Regions from separate parts of the Homo sapiens genome. Here all the other regions are linked to region 3. Evidence: promoter capture Hi-C in 16 types of primary human blood cells and fetal thymus (Javierre and others, 2016). All regions are on one chromosome and are shown on one strand. Each heading gives the region's core, a stretch centred on a gene start or on the middle of the fragment in contact. The rest is flanking DNA. Distances are from core to core; before and after follow the strand shown.

The links. The method cuts DNA at HindIII sites, captures the fragments that hold promoters and counts their contacts. A CHiCAGO score of 5 or more calls a contact.
Region 1: the fragment with the promoter of RCSD1 here is called in contact with the fragment with the promoter of TADA1 in region 3 in 3 of 17 cell types (fetal thymus, activated CD4 T cells and monocytes); the score reaches 6.7 in fetal thymus.
Region 2: a fragment that was not itself captured here is called in contact with the fragment with the promoter of TADA1 in region 3 in 1 of 17 cell types (naive B cells); the score reaches 5.4 in naive B cells.

Annotation. Positions count from the first base shown.
Region 1 is chr1:167,628,737-167,632,432 of GRCh38, reverse strand. RCSD1 (RCSD domain containing 1) reads right to left here and starts at 2,201. Exons shown (of 7, transcript NM_052862.4): 1 at 2,004-2,201. The coding sequence starts at 2,009. RefSeq lists an enhancer at 1,415-1,484 and silencers at 2,025-2,244, 2,265-2,344. The HindIII fragment of the contact is 3,174 bases long and covers 605-3,696 here.
Region 2 is chr1:167,395,729-167,399,405 of GRCh38, reverse strand. POU2F1 (POU class 2 homeobox 1) reads right to left here. Exons shown (of 16, transcript NM_002697.4): 10 at 2,979-3,120; 11 at 1,273-1,412; 12 at 41-220. Among named protein-coding and RNA genes, the nearest start is that of CD247, 120 kb to the left of the region's middle. The HindIII fragment of the contact is 1,911 bases long and covers 733-2,643 here.
Region 3 is chr1:166,874,024-166,878,230 of GRCh38, reverse strand. It overlaps TADA1 (transcriptional adaptor 1), which reads left to right and starts at 1,967. Exons shown (of 8, transcript NM_053053.4): 1 at 1,967-2,071. The coding sequence starts at 1,998. RefSeq lists an enhancer at 1,581-1,630 and silencers at 2,031-2,080, 2,111-2,510. The HindIII fragment of the contact is 11,749 bases long and covers 1-4,207 here.

The sequences.
Region 1 (3,696 bases), core at 952-3,451, 750 kb before region 3:
GCCTCTGTGGAAGGAGACCCTCCTTGTTTTCCTAGAACAAAGTTGACACTTGCATTTGGCCCTCCAGCAGCAACCTGCTTGAAGTCTAAGAGTTGCTTTTCTCTTATCTCCAATCCTTTTCTTCAAGAGGTTAGACAGGCCATACATCATAGTGAATCTGCAGCCTGGGGCCTAAGGCAGTTTGTACACTTCCAGAAGAGGGAAGCCACTTCTAAAACAATTTCTTAAGGAGACTTCACCCAACCCAAGAAGCTGGGTGTTGCCTGGGCCATTTCCCTCCTCTGCCCTGAAGCAGTGGCCAGCTCAGAGAGAACCCTGTTGTTTTGTGTTTGTGTGATCTTTGGGTGGATGTGTGCACACCACCTGCTGAGCTTCGCTGTGTGCGTGCCTCACCGCCAGCCCTAATCTGCCAGAGCTTCCTGGCCTTGCAAATGTTTCTGTGGAGGGTCCATATTAGACTCCAGTGGTTCTTGCAGTCTATAAAGTCTCCTTGAAGGTGATTCCCTGTTCCTTGAAGACAACTGGCTGGGCTGGATGCCTGAATATAGCTCCCTGACTTCTCTAAAGGACAAACTTATTGCCCCTTTAGAGAAGTCATGAAGCTTTGCCGGCAAGCACAGAGTCTAGCTTAGAAAACACAACCAGGGCCAGGAGTGGTGTGGCTCATGCCTGCAAATCCAGCACTTTGGGAGGCCAAGGCTTAGAGGATCACTTGAGCCCAGGAGTTCAAGACCAGCATGGGTAATATAGTGAGAACTTGTCTCTACAAAAAATTTTAAAACTAGCCAGGCATGGTGGTACACACTGGTAGTCCCAGCCACTTGGGAGGCTGAGGTGGGAGGATCCTTTGAGCCTGGGAGGCAGAGGTTGCAGTGAGCTGAGATTGTGCCACTGCACTCCAGCCTGGGTAACAGAATGAGACCCTGTCTCAAAAGAAAAAAATAAAAAGACCACCAGGGCCCAGGCACAGAGCCTGGAGCGGGGAAGAGATAGCGGAGTTAACTGTGAATCCTGATTGCACTGACCACAGTCTAGTGAGCAACACATGTTTCCTTTTGAATATGAGTGGGAATCACCTTTAAAACTATATAACATTTGCATCTTCTCAAAAGCCCCAGGTCCTACTAAGATTGACTTAGGGCTACATATCAGGTCTCATTTTCAAGGAGGAAACACAGGGAAGCCTCAAGATGTGCAGAAGAGAGGGATGTGGGGAATACACCCAACCACTCCTCTGCTGAGGTTGGAACAGAACAAGGAAAGTCCCCGGACCTCCTCTCAGCAGGCAGAGAAGTGCGGGGCCTCCCTCTGGCAAAGCCTGCAGATGTGGCCAGCATACCTCCATACACACAGCTTCAGAGGCAAGGGTGTCCAAGGGAGTCTTAAGTTTTATCAGAAATAATGTCATTCGACTGACCAGTAAGGGGAGCTTTCAGAAAGTTATGGAAGAAGATGCGACAGACACAGGAAGGACTTCAGAAGCAAGAAGACAACTGGACTCTCTAAAATGCCACTCCGAAAGCGAAAAGGGAAGCCCACAGACCCACGAAGACGTGCTGGCCTCGTGTTGCCAGTTCTGTTTCTCTTTCAATACCCATCTCTTCAGATTGAAGGGCTTCTGCCTTCTTGCAGTTTTTGCTGACACGTTTACCCATTTACAAACCTTGGCTGCACCTAACTTTTTTTTTTTTTTTTTTTTTTTTTTTTTTTTAGCATTTAAGTTCCTAGCCAAAATACCCGGGCCTCTAGGAAAGCCCTTTTCTCTCCCTCTGAGATCTTTCCTTACCAACCCCAGCCTCCCAACCCGGGTGTCCTAGGTGGGACCAGGGACGATCCTTCGGAGTTGGTCAAGGAGGCGTCGGAACAGCAGGCATTTGCCCTTCTAGTTGGCAGCAGCGATGAGCCGCGTGCTCCATGCTCAGGGCAGGGGCAGCCGCCCGGGGAAGGGGCGCCCGATACACCGCTCACCGCTCAGCCCCGCGTCTCCCTCCGGGGTCCTTTACCTCCATGTCCTTCAGGTGCCGACTCTGCGGCAGACGCACCCGCTCGCCCGGGCCGGAGCTCACGATCCCCGCTGTCCCCTCCGCTCCCGGCCGTGGCCAGTTTCGGGCTGCGGCGGGCACAGGGCGAGTGGGCGGTGGCGCGCGCCCGGCTGCGCTCGGCTGCGGGACTGCCCCGGCCGCGGGGGCCCTGCGCGAGAGAACGAGGAAGGAGGAGGAGGGAGGGAGGGAGGAAGGGGAGGGGAGGGGAGGGTGGGGAGCGGGGAGGGAGGCCGACGATCAGGGTTTAAATTTAGACGCAAATCTAAACAGATACTGTCCCTCCCAGGGCAGGACTCAAGAGCGGGAGCCACGACTCCATGTGCCCAAACATGGGGATGGGCAGCCACCGGGCCCCTCTGTCTCGCGAAGTTTCTCAGGACCCTGGGCTTTGCCACGGTCTCAGTCCTTCTCAACGTCTCCCTCCCTTAATGCGCCTTCTTTCTTTTTCCTGTCCCTTCAAGAATTAGAGTGGTCCTTTAATTCTTTTTGTTTCCTCTCTTTTCGATTTCCTTCTTTTGTGTCCATCCTTCCTGCTTTCCTTCTTCCTCTCCCTCTTTTTAAAATTGCATTACTGTCATACCTGGTTTCCCTGCAGTTCTTGGGTGGAGTTCGAGGACCCTCCCTGGTGGAAGGCGTTTGTGTTCTACCAAAAGAGGAGCCCTTCTGACCGAGGCTTCAGAGCTCAGCGTGGCGCCGACGGGACCACCTTTCCCTTCTCACCTCTTTTCCTCTCCACCTTCCAGGAAACCACTATCTATCCATCTATCCATCTATCTTCTGTATACGAGTAGAAGGAGGAGGAGGAGGAGGAAAATCAGGAATCCACGCAAAGTTTTCCAAGCTCCCTGAAGTGGTAAATCTTTTCTTCAAACCTTGCTTTGACTGATGCATTCGGTTTTGTGGGAATTTTGGCTCCCACAAGCTGCTTGCTAAAGGGCCTCGTCTCCATTCCTGTTAAATATAGCAAAGGGCAAGATGCTCAACATCTGATTCCCATAGGGCCCAGCATAGCAACCTTCCTTTAGGGCCATCCCGGCTGGGCAGCAGAGACCGCATGGGAGGGATTCGGGGACTGGAATCTGCACCAGGGTCACTCCCTGCTACCCGGATCCCGGCCCCCTTCAGACCCTTCGGCAGAGAGAAACAGGAAAATGCCTTGAGAGACCTGTGAGTGCCAGGGTATTGGCTGGGTATATGACGCCTCTGGGTTATCCCACAGCATTCTCACCCGCCCAACCCCAGCTCAACCAGGGGAGGGGAGCCCCATCAGAGGTGGGCAATGGGACAGGTGATGGTGAGCACTGTGAAGAGACATGTGGAGAAACAGTAGAGAAAAAAGGCTGAGAGTCTGCTCCTGCTACAAAGACTACCCTGATTCTGGTTATCCCGGCACCATCTTTGCACTTTCAGGCACTTAGATTGCTGCTTTGGGTACCAGTCTTAGAAATATGGCCTCCTTCCTGTCCTAGAACTTTCTAAGGCCCAACTTTCTAAAACACTGGCAGCCCTAATGCCAGAGTGGCTTCTAGTTCTTTAGCTTAGCTAAGCATAGAGGAAGACGCCTGGTTTTAGGAACAGACAGATTGAGGGCTGAATTCCAGCTCTGCTACTTTCTAGTTGTATTTTTTAGACAAGTCACTTAACTGCTCTGATT
Region 2 (3,677 bases), core at 439-2,938, 520 kb before region 3:
ATTAGCCCTTGAGCTTGCACTCCCTATTTTTTATTCTTACCAGTGAAGTTGGGCTGGGGAAAATTGCTTTAATAGGTGAGCTGCTGGTCCCACCACTGCTTGGTGGGTTGATTCTTTTTTCTTTCTGGCGGCGGTTACAGAACCAAACACGAATCACCTCTTTTTCCATATTGAGCTGATCAGCAATCATAGTGATCTCTTCCGAGGTAGGCTTTTGATTCTGCAGGGTGAAAAGATGTAATTCCAAAAGCTATCCTTTGCAATAACTTTTTGAACTACTGGCATAATCACGTCAGGTTAGAAAATGAAGCTGGGATACATATGACCATCCACATTAGGCCACTTTCAACAAAGAGATTGTGTAGATAGAAGTTCTAATGAACATACACCTATTAAACTTATTCATATTAACTTAGGATAAGTTATCCTTAAATATCTATAGTTTTTCATTTTTAAGATCTATTAATTGTGAATGAAATTAACAAAATACCAGTACAACCACATGTATTAGTAGGAATTTAACCTTTCTCCATGCTTCATGCTATCTAATTTGGATCTCACAGTAAGAAAGGCAGGTATTTCACAATGAAGGACCTTTAGCTTAAAGAAATCACATGATTTGCCCAATCACACAGTTTAAGTGGCAGAGCTGACAAAAACTCCTAATTCAGAGTCCTCCCAATGTGCTCAAGTCTTTTCTGAATTAGAGAAGTCAAAATTTTCTTAAAAGCTTTGTTATGATATTACCTGGTACAAAAAAATAATTGCCAAATATCTCTTGCATTAACTTAAGCTCCATAGCCTAACACTCAAGGTCTCTAGTGTTCCAGTCCCAAACTACTATTCCAGGCATACAGACACTACAATTTAACCAACCAATCTACTAGAGTGTCTCCTCATACACCCTATGGTTTCCCTCACTCCAGTGTTTCTCCCCCACTCTGAGGGGGAAACGCTCATGCATTTCCTCTGCTTAAAGTACTTTCCCCCCACCTTTTCTAGTCTGTGGAATTAATTCCTATGTATCCTATGGTAAGCTGCCACCTCTCTCATACTGAGTGCTTGCATGGATGTGATTCTAGTCTCTCCTGAACCCTGCAGAACTCTGGTTCTGTCTCCTATGTTAGTAACTTACTTACTTCACCTATTTATAATCATCCATAAGAGCAGAGGCTGACATGTCATCTTTTACCACCTACAGTTTCTACTAAGTACTAATGTTAAGTACTACACAGACAATCCCATGTACAGAAAAGTAAAATCCTCACTGACCTCCAAGAAACTCTTCTCTAAGGCCACACGGATGTTGGTCTCTATGCTGGTGCGTTTCTTCCTCCTACGGCTCAAGCCCTCAATTCCTGGAGAATTCAGGGCACTTGGGCTGGAGAGGGACGAATCAGATGAGAGGTTCTCTGTAAGAATGAAGAAAATACAGAAATAAAATTAGCTGAGCACAGTGATTCATGTGCATAATATGCATATTAACAACAAAACTGACAAAATAAGCTACATCCAAGTATGAAAAGGTTTTCACATAACCTACATTACAATATTGCTTATTGGCCGGGCATGGTGGTTCACACCTGTAATCCCAGCACTTTGGGAGGCTGAGGCGGGAGGATCACTTGAGGTCAGGAGTTCAAGACCAGCCTGGCTAAATGGTGAAACCCCATCTCTACCAAAAATACAAAAATTAGCTGGGCACAGTGGCGTGCGCCTGTGGTCCCAGTTACTTGGGAGGCTGAGGCAGGAGAATCACTTGAACCTGGGAGGTGGAGGCTGCAGTGACCTGAGATGGTGCCACTGCACTCCAGCCTGGACAACAGAGTGAGACCATGTCTCCCCCTACCCACCACCCATCCCCCCAATATATATATATTTACTACCATGGATATTTCTGCTGCCCTTATTGGCATTCTTTCTGCTAGGATGGTTGACAATATTACCACTATGTTTGGATTTCTGTTTCTGAGACAGAAGAGGTTTACTATTCCTATCCTTAAACTCAGCTCTATGTCTCCAGTTCTGTTTGTTTATAAGTTCTGGGGATAAAAGGAAGAAAGTTTCTTAGAAATTACTGAACGTTTAATATTTATCTTGTAAATGGCCTCTCATTTTATTGGTATAATCTAGGGTAAAAAGAAAAGAAACAAATGAAATATTTATAAATTCTCTGAAGTTAAATCACAGGGTTCTATAATTTCACAGTTTAATAACCTTGGGCATGTCATACACATCTGAGTTTGTTTCTGCTACACGTAAAATAAGATGGAAACAGTAAACCAGTGGTTCTTATCTGTGGACTTGGGAAACAGATGCCTAGGCCTCACCCATAGCTACTGAATAAAACTGTCCAAGGATGCGTGTTTCAGGTTTGTCTTTTCCAAAGGCCTAATTTTTGTTCATATCTACAATAAGAACCATAGTTTAAGGGATCTACATGACTCCTACAGCTTTCATAGTCTATGATCCTGTGACTCAAAATTCCAATCTTCCAAAAGGAACTCTCAGCACAAAAAAACGTAAGACAAAGCTAGTAGTCCAACTTTTCTGAATGAAATGTGTGGTCATTTGAAATAACAAAAGCAGAACTATTGCAAGAACAAGTTCTATGATAATTCATCAAGGAAGAAACAATAAGCTTCTACTTCAAGCTTATCTAAATACAAAAGCCTTACTTATCCTATTCCTTCAACTGTGTGTGTGTGTGTGTGTGTGTTCCTAATCCTGGCTCAAATACAAGAGTATTTCAGGCTAAAAATTACGGCTAATTATTTATACTGTAATTACTAGAATATTTAAATGAATCAGCTTTCTGATTTATATCACCATAATTTATAATGATCCTCCCAGGATTAGTAAGCTTCAAGGTTCTGTAACAACAAAAATAGAGTAAGAAATATAAACCCCAATTTATATAACAATCCCCATGTAAAATTCCAATGAATGACAAAGAAATGTCTTATACAGTCACTTACCTGCATCATTTAGCCACTTCTCTAAAAGTGGCTTCAACTTGCACATGTTCTTAAAGCTGAGGTTCAAGGCTTCAAATCGAGAGATGGTAGTTTGGCTGAAGTCATTTCCATATAGTTTCCCCATAGCGAGCCCAACATCACCCTACACACAATACAGAGCAGGAGAAGAGGAGAGGAAAGACAGAGTTATCTCACCAGTGCTTAAAGCCTTCACTCTGGGGTGTTGCTCCAATAACTGCTTTAGACAAGGAGTCAGTAATTATTCCACTTACGGGGTCCCACATAAACTCCATCCCTAAGCCAGTCACAGTGTTACTGTGAGGACTCTTTTAGGCCTGATCGTTACAATGTTCAATACTGTCCCACATACTTTCCCATTTTGAATCTCTTCTTGCCACCTTATGTAATCATGGAGATACCAAAATTTCAACTAGGTATCAAAAATAGTGCTAATATTCTAACAAGCCCCTTAATTGATACAACCAAAGTGATTTAAGTAATTTTTAAAAATGTATTTATCTGGTCTGGGCACAGTGGCTCACACCTTTAATCCCAGCATTTTGGGAAGCCTAGGCCTACATGGGTGGAATGCTTGAGCCCAGGATTTCCAGACCAGCCTGGAGAACATGGCAAAACATCTACAAAAAATACAAATATTAGGCAGGTATGGTGGCGTGTGCCTGTAGTCCTAGCCATTTG
Region 3 (4,207 bases), core at 718-3,217:
TCCCCACCCAGCCCAGAAGCCCAGGCGGCTTCACCTCTCAATATTAAATTGTTTGGTCAGATGTCCATTTATGTATATTATATTGTCTAACATTACAGTTTAAATGGACATTTAACTGAAAAACTGTAGTAAAATTAGTGTTAATAGGTGTATAAGTGCTGAGAGAGAAAGGGATATTTAATTGAGCTAGACGTATGAGTATTGTCAAGCATGGGTTCAAAAAGAAAATCTTTGAGGCCTATCTTTCTTCGTGGCTAGAGACAAATGAGAAACAGGGATTCTTCCTGGAAGATGTACCCAACTATCTGTAGCCTTTCCTAGTCCTGTTGACTTGATCCTTGAATAGATTCATATATATGTTTGAACCTGATTCAAAAAAAATGGAGGTAGCCAACCATAAGTCTCAAAACCAGCAGAGAGGAGATATGCGTAAAGGGGAAGAGCCATGTGATTTGTTAAAGTCAAGTTAACTAGAATGCTGAGTCCAAGTGTGGGGTTATGTGGGAAGGCCAGTGGTGTGTGAGGTACACAGGTAGGGTGAGTTCAGATCATGAGAACATTTGAATGCTGGAGTCTGGAATTTGTTCAGCAGAGCGTGGGGAGCCATGGAAAACTTAAGTGGATATTTTTTAAATGTGTCAAAACTTACCCAGAGTTTTGACACAGAGAGGAAGACTTTGCCTGACCTTTGTATCTCCTTTCACCTGTGTATCTCCAGTACTCAAAGAGTTCCAGACACATAATAGGAGCTCACTGTATGAATTCAAGTGAAGAGAAGGTGCCCGGCTGGCATTGCAGCCAGGACAGGGCTTGTGGGTTTAGGTTGGGCAGTGAGGAAGTTGAATGAATGAACTTAAGGGGACATCTTTGGAGAAATTACACAAGATCTAAAAGCTATCTAGGATTATTTAAAAAACTTTGGGAGGCAATTTGACAATATACACCAAGGCATTTATAAATATTCCCATCATTTGATCCAGTAATTCTATGTGTGGGACTCTATGCTAAAGTAATAATCCTAAAGGAGGAAAAGTTTTATGCATAAAGAAGTTTTGCTTCATTATGCTATATGCTTCAAAAGCAATATTACAGTATTGCTTTTTAATAGAGAAGAAATGGACACAGTCTAACAATTGGGAAACAAGTTGTGTACCTTCTATCTGTGGGGGTATTTAATATGTTGTCATTAAAATTATTCTAAAGACAATGTAATACTACAGATAAATCCTTAAGTTTAAAAACGTGCAAAATTGAACATAGAATATTTTAAGTCATGGGAGTGTGCGAAGTGAAGGAGAAATCTCTCTCAGTTAAGTGTTTGTCCGGGAGTGGTAAAACACTTTTTCCTTCTTTTTATCTTTATCTTTCTGTGTATTTTCCAAATTTTACATAGTTACCTCATTTACTCAAATACTTATTAAGCATCCACTATGTGCCAGGCGCTGCTCTAGAGAATTGCGGGTAACAGTGAATAAAACACAACTCCTGTCCTCGAGCCATAACATTTACAAGATAAATCAACTAAATGTCATATGAGACGGTTAGTGCTCGGGGAAAAATAAGGCAAGGAAAGAGTAAAACTGATACTGCATTTACTTTTTTAAATGGAGGGGTAAGGTACTCCTCCAGGCAGAAGAACAGCAGGCTGAATTCGGAATTGCCCCAGCGGTAACAGAATGAAAGAGCTTGGGACACGCCAGCCTGTCAGCAACGTTGCAGCCGAGGCGGGGCGCGCGGGTTTAGGATGGGCGCGCGACAAGGTGAAGCGGATCACGTGACTCGAGGGGCGGGAGGAAGAGAGCAGAGTTTGGCCGGGCACCTTCCCTGCGAAAAGGCGGGCGGAGCCGAAAACCAAACAAACGACTTCTGAGAGATTGGGGGCGGGACTGACGGCGGCCGGCTTAGCTTCCAGAGCCAAGGCCTTCCGCCGAGTTGGTTTTTGGGTTGTTGATCGCGGTGGCCGGGCGGTCTGCGGTCGGGCTGAGACACGCGGAGCAATGGCGACCTTTGTGAGCGAGCTGGAGGCGGCCAAGAAGAACTTAAGCGAGGCCCTGGGGGACAACGTGAAACAGTAAGAGCTGCCCTAGCACAGCGTCCAGGCCAACACGCGGGTGCTCTCCTGGCCTCGGGCTGCCAGCCCGCCCCGGAGACGCCCGCGTCGCCCGGGGGCCTGTGCAGCCTGGAGTCCGCGGCGGCGGGGCTTCGGGGTTTCTCCGGCCGGGGCGGGGCGGGCCACCTGAACTCACCGCCCTGGAGAGACCGGGCCTCCTGGGCGCCCGGGAGACATCGGCGGGCGCCGTTGCTCGGGACTGTCTGCCCTGGGTGGGGCGGGAGAAGCGCACTTCGCACCCAAGGGCCTGCTGAGCAGGTGCGGGCCCCAGCGCGGGCGTGCGGGATGCGGGAGGCTGACTTGGGCGGAGTGAGCCGGAGCCCTACGCGTCCAGCCAGAGGGCATAGCGCAGGGCGGCCCGCCCCTGGAGGGCTTCCTGGAGGTGGAGGCCTGTTGAGCTGGTGTGATCTGCTACGGATTATTGGTAAGCTCTTTTGACAGCAATTTCGTAAGGCAGACGGACCCTCTGGTGAAATCACAGTCATTGAACACTACAATTATAGTGATGATAGCAGTAGCGGACATTTTAAACATTTTAAGCTCTCTAAATATATTATCTAATCCTTACAACAGATGTGAGATAGGTACAGTTGTTATTCCCATTTGACAGATGAGAAGACTGAGACCTAGTGCGGACAAGTAACTCTTCAAAAGTCACTGTCAGAGTTGGGACCCACGCTTTTGATTCCCGACTGATGCATTAGAGGGGCTGTAAAGGATCCCAGAGACGCTCAGCCAGACCTTCATCCAGGTTATGGCAGGGGACCTAGTGCACAGTCAGGTTAGGTGCAGAATGGCCAAGGGTAAAATCAGTATCCAGTCAAAGCCAAAGCCAAAGAGCAAAAAAGGAACCTCTGGGATACAAGGAAGAGTTTGGAAATTTTCAAAACGTTGTTATTACAACTTTATTTTTCAAAAATATAGGAAGCAAATATAAACGTTTAAAATTACAGTGCCTGTGTTGTTGCTGCTAGATGGCTTCTCTGGTATTCTACACATTTGCATTACTCAGTGGATGCATACTTTTAAATGATGTTGGTGGAGGAGCAATTTGGGAATACTTAATTTTTCTCCAATACTTTCTTTTCATCCTTCTCTGTTCTTTATTATTACTGGATTGAAATTACTTAGGTTGGATGTCATACATGAATTTTGGAGTTTTTCCTTCATGTGAAATTTTGGGGTGGCAGAGTTGACAGTCTACTTTTCATCCTAACAAGATAATAATGGAAACTATAAAAAGATTAAAATTAAAATCTAAACTGTTATTTTAGCATAATTATTTAATTTTTGGTGAACATTTATTTACGCCCAGAGATATGTTTCACTTTGTGTTTGGGGGTTGGGGTCTTGCTCTGTGGCAGAGGCCGAAGTACAGTGGCCTGATCACACAGTTCACAGCAACCTTGATCTCCTGAGCTCAAGAGATCCTCCCCTGCTGTGAGCCTATAACTGGGACTGTAGGCACGCCCCGCTAATCCTGGCTAAAGTTTTTTTTTTCAGAGACAAAGTCTTGCTGTGTTGCCCAGGCTGATCTCAAATCCTGGCCTCAAGCAGTCCTCCCGCATTGGCCTCCCAAAGTTCTGGGATTACAGGCATGAGCCACCACACCCGACTATAGTGTACCACCGAAAATTGTCTTTCGATATTGATGTTCACTGTGCTTATTGAATTAAATATTCTTACTTATTTTAATAGGTAAAATTGACAGCTTTCACCCTAATTACTGTAGCTTTTTACTTTTGTAATACCGACTGATAAAATTTACCTTTTTTTTTTTTGAGATGGAGTCTTGCTCTGTCGTCCAGGCTGGGGTGCAGTGGCATGATCTCCGCTCACTGCAGCCTCCACCTCCTGGGTTCAAGCACTTCTCTGCCTCAGCCTCCTGAGTAGCTGGGATTACAGGCACCTGCCACCACGCCCGGCTAATTTTTGTATTTTTAGTAGAGATGGGGTTTCACCATCTTGGCCAGGCTGGTCTTGAACTCCTGACCTCGTGAGCCACCCGCCTTGGCCTCCCAAAGTGCTGGGATTACCGACGTGAGCCACCGCGCCCAGCCAAAATTTACATTTTTAAGCACATAAGGGGCATTTCAC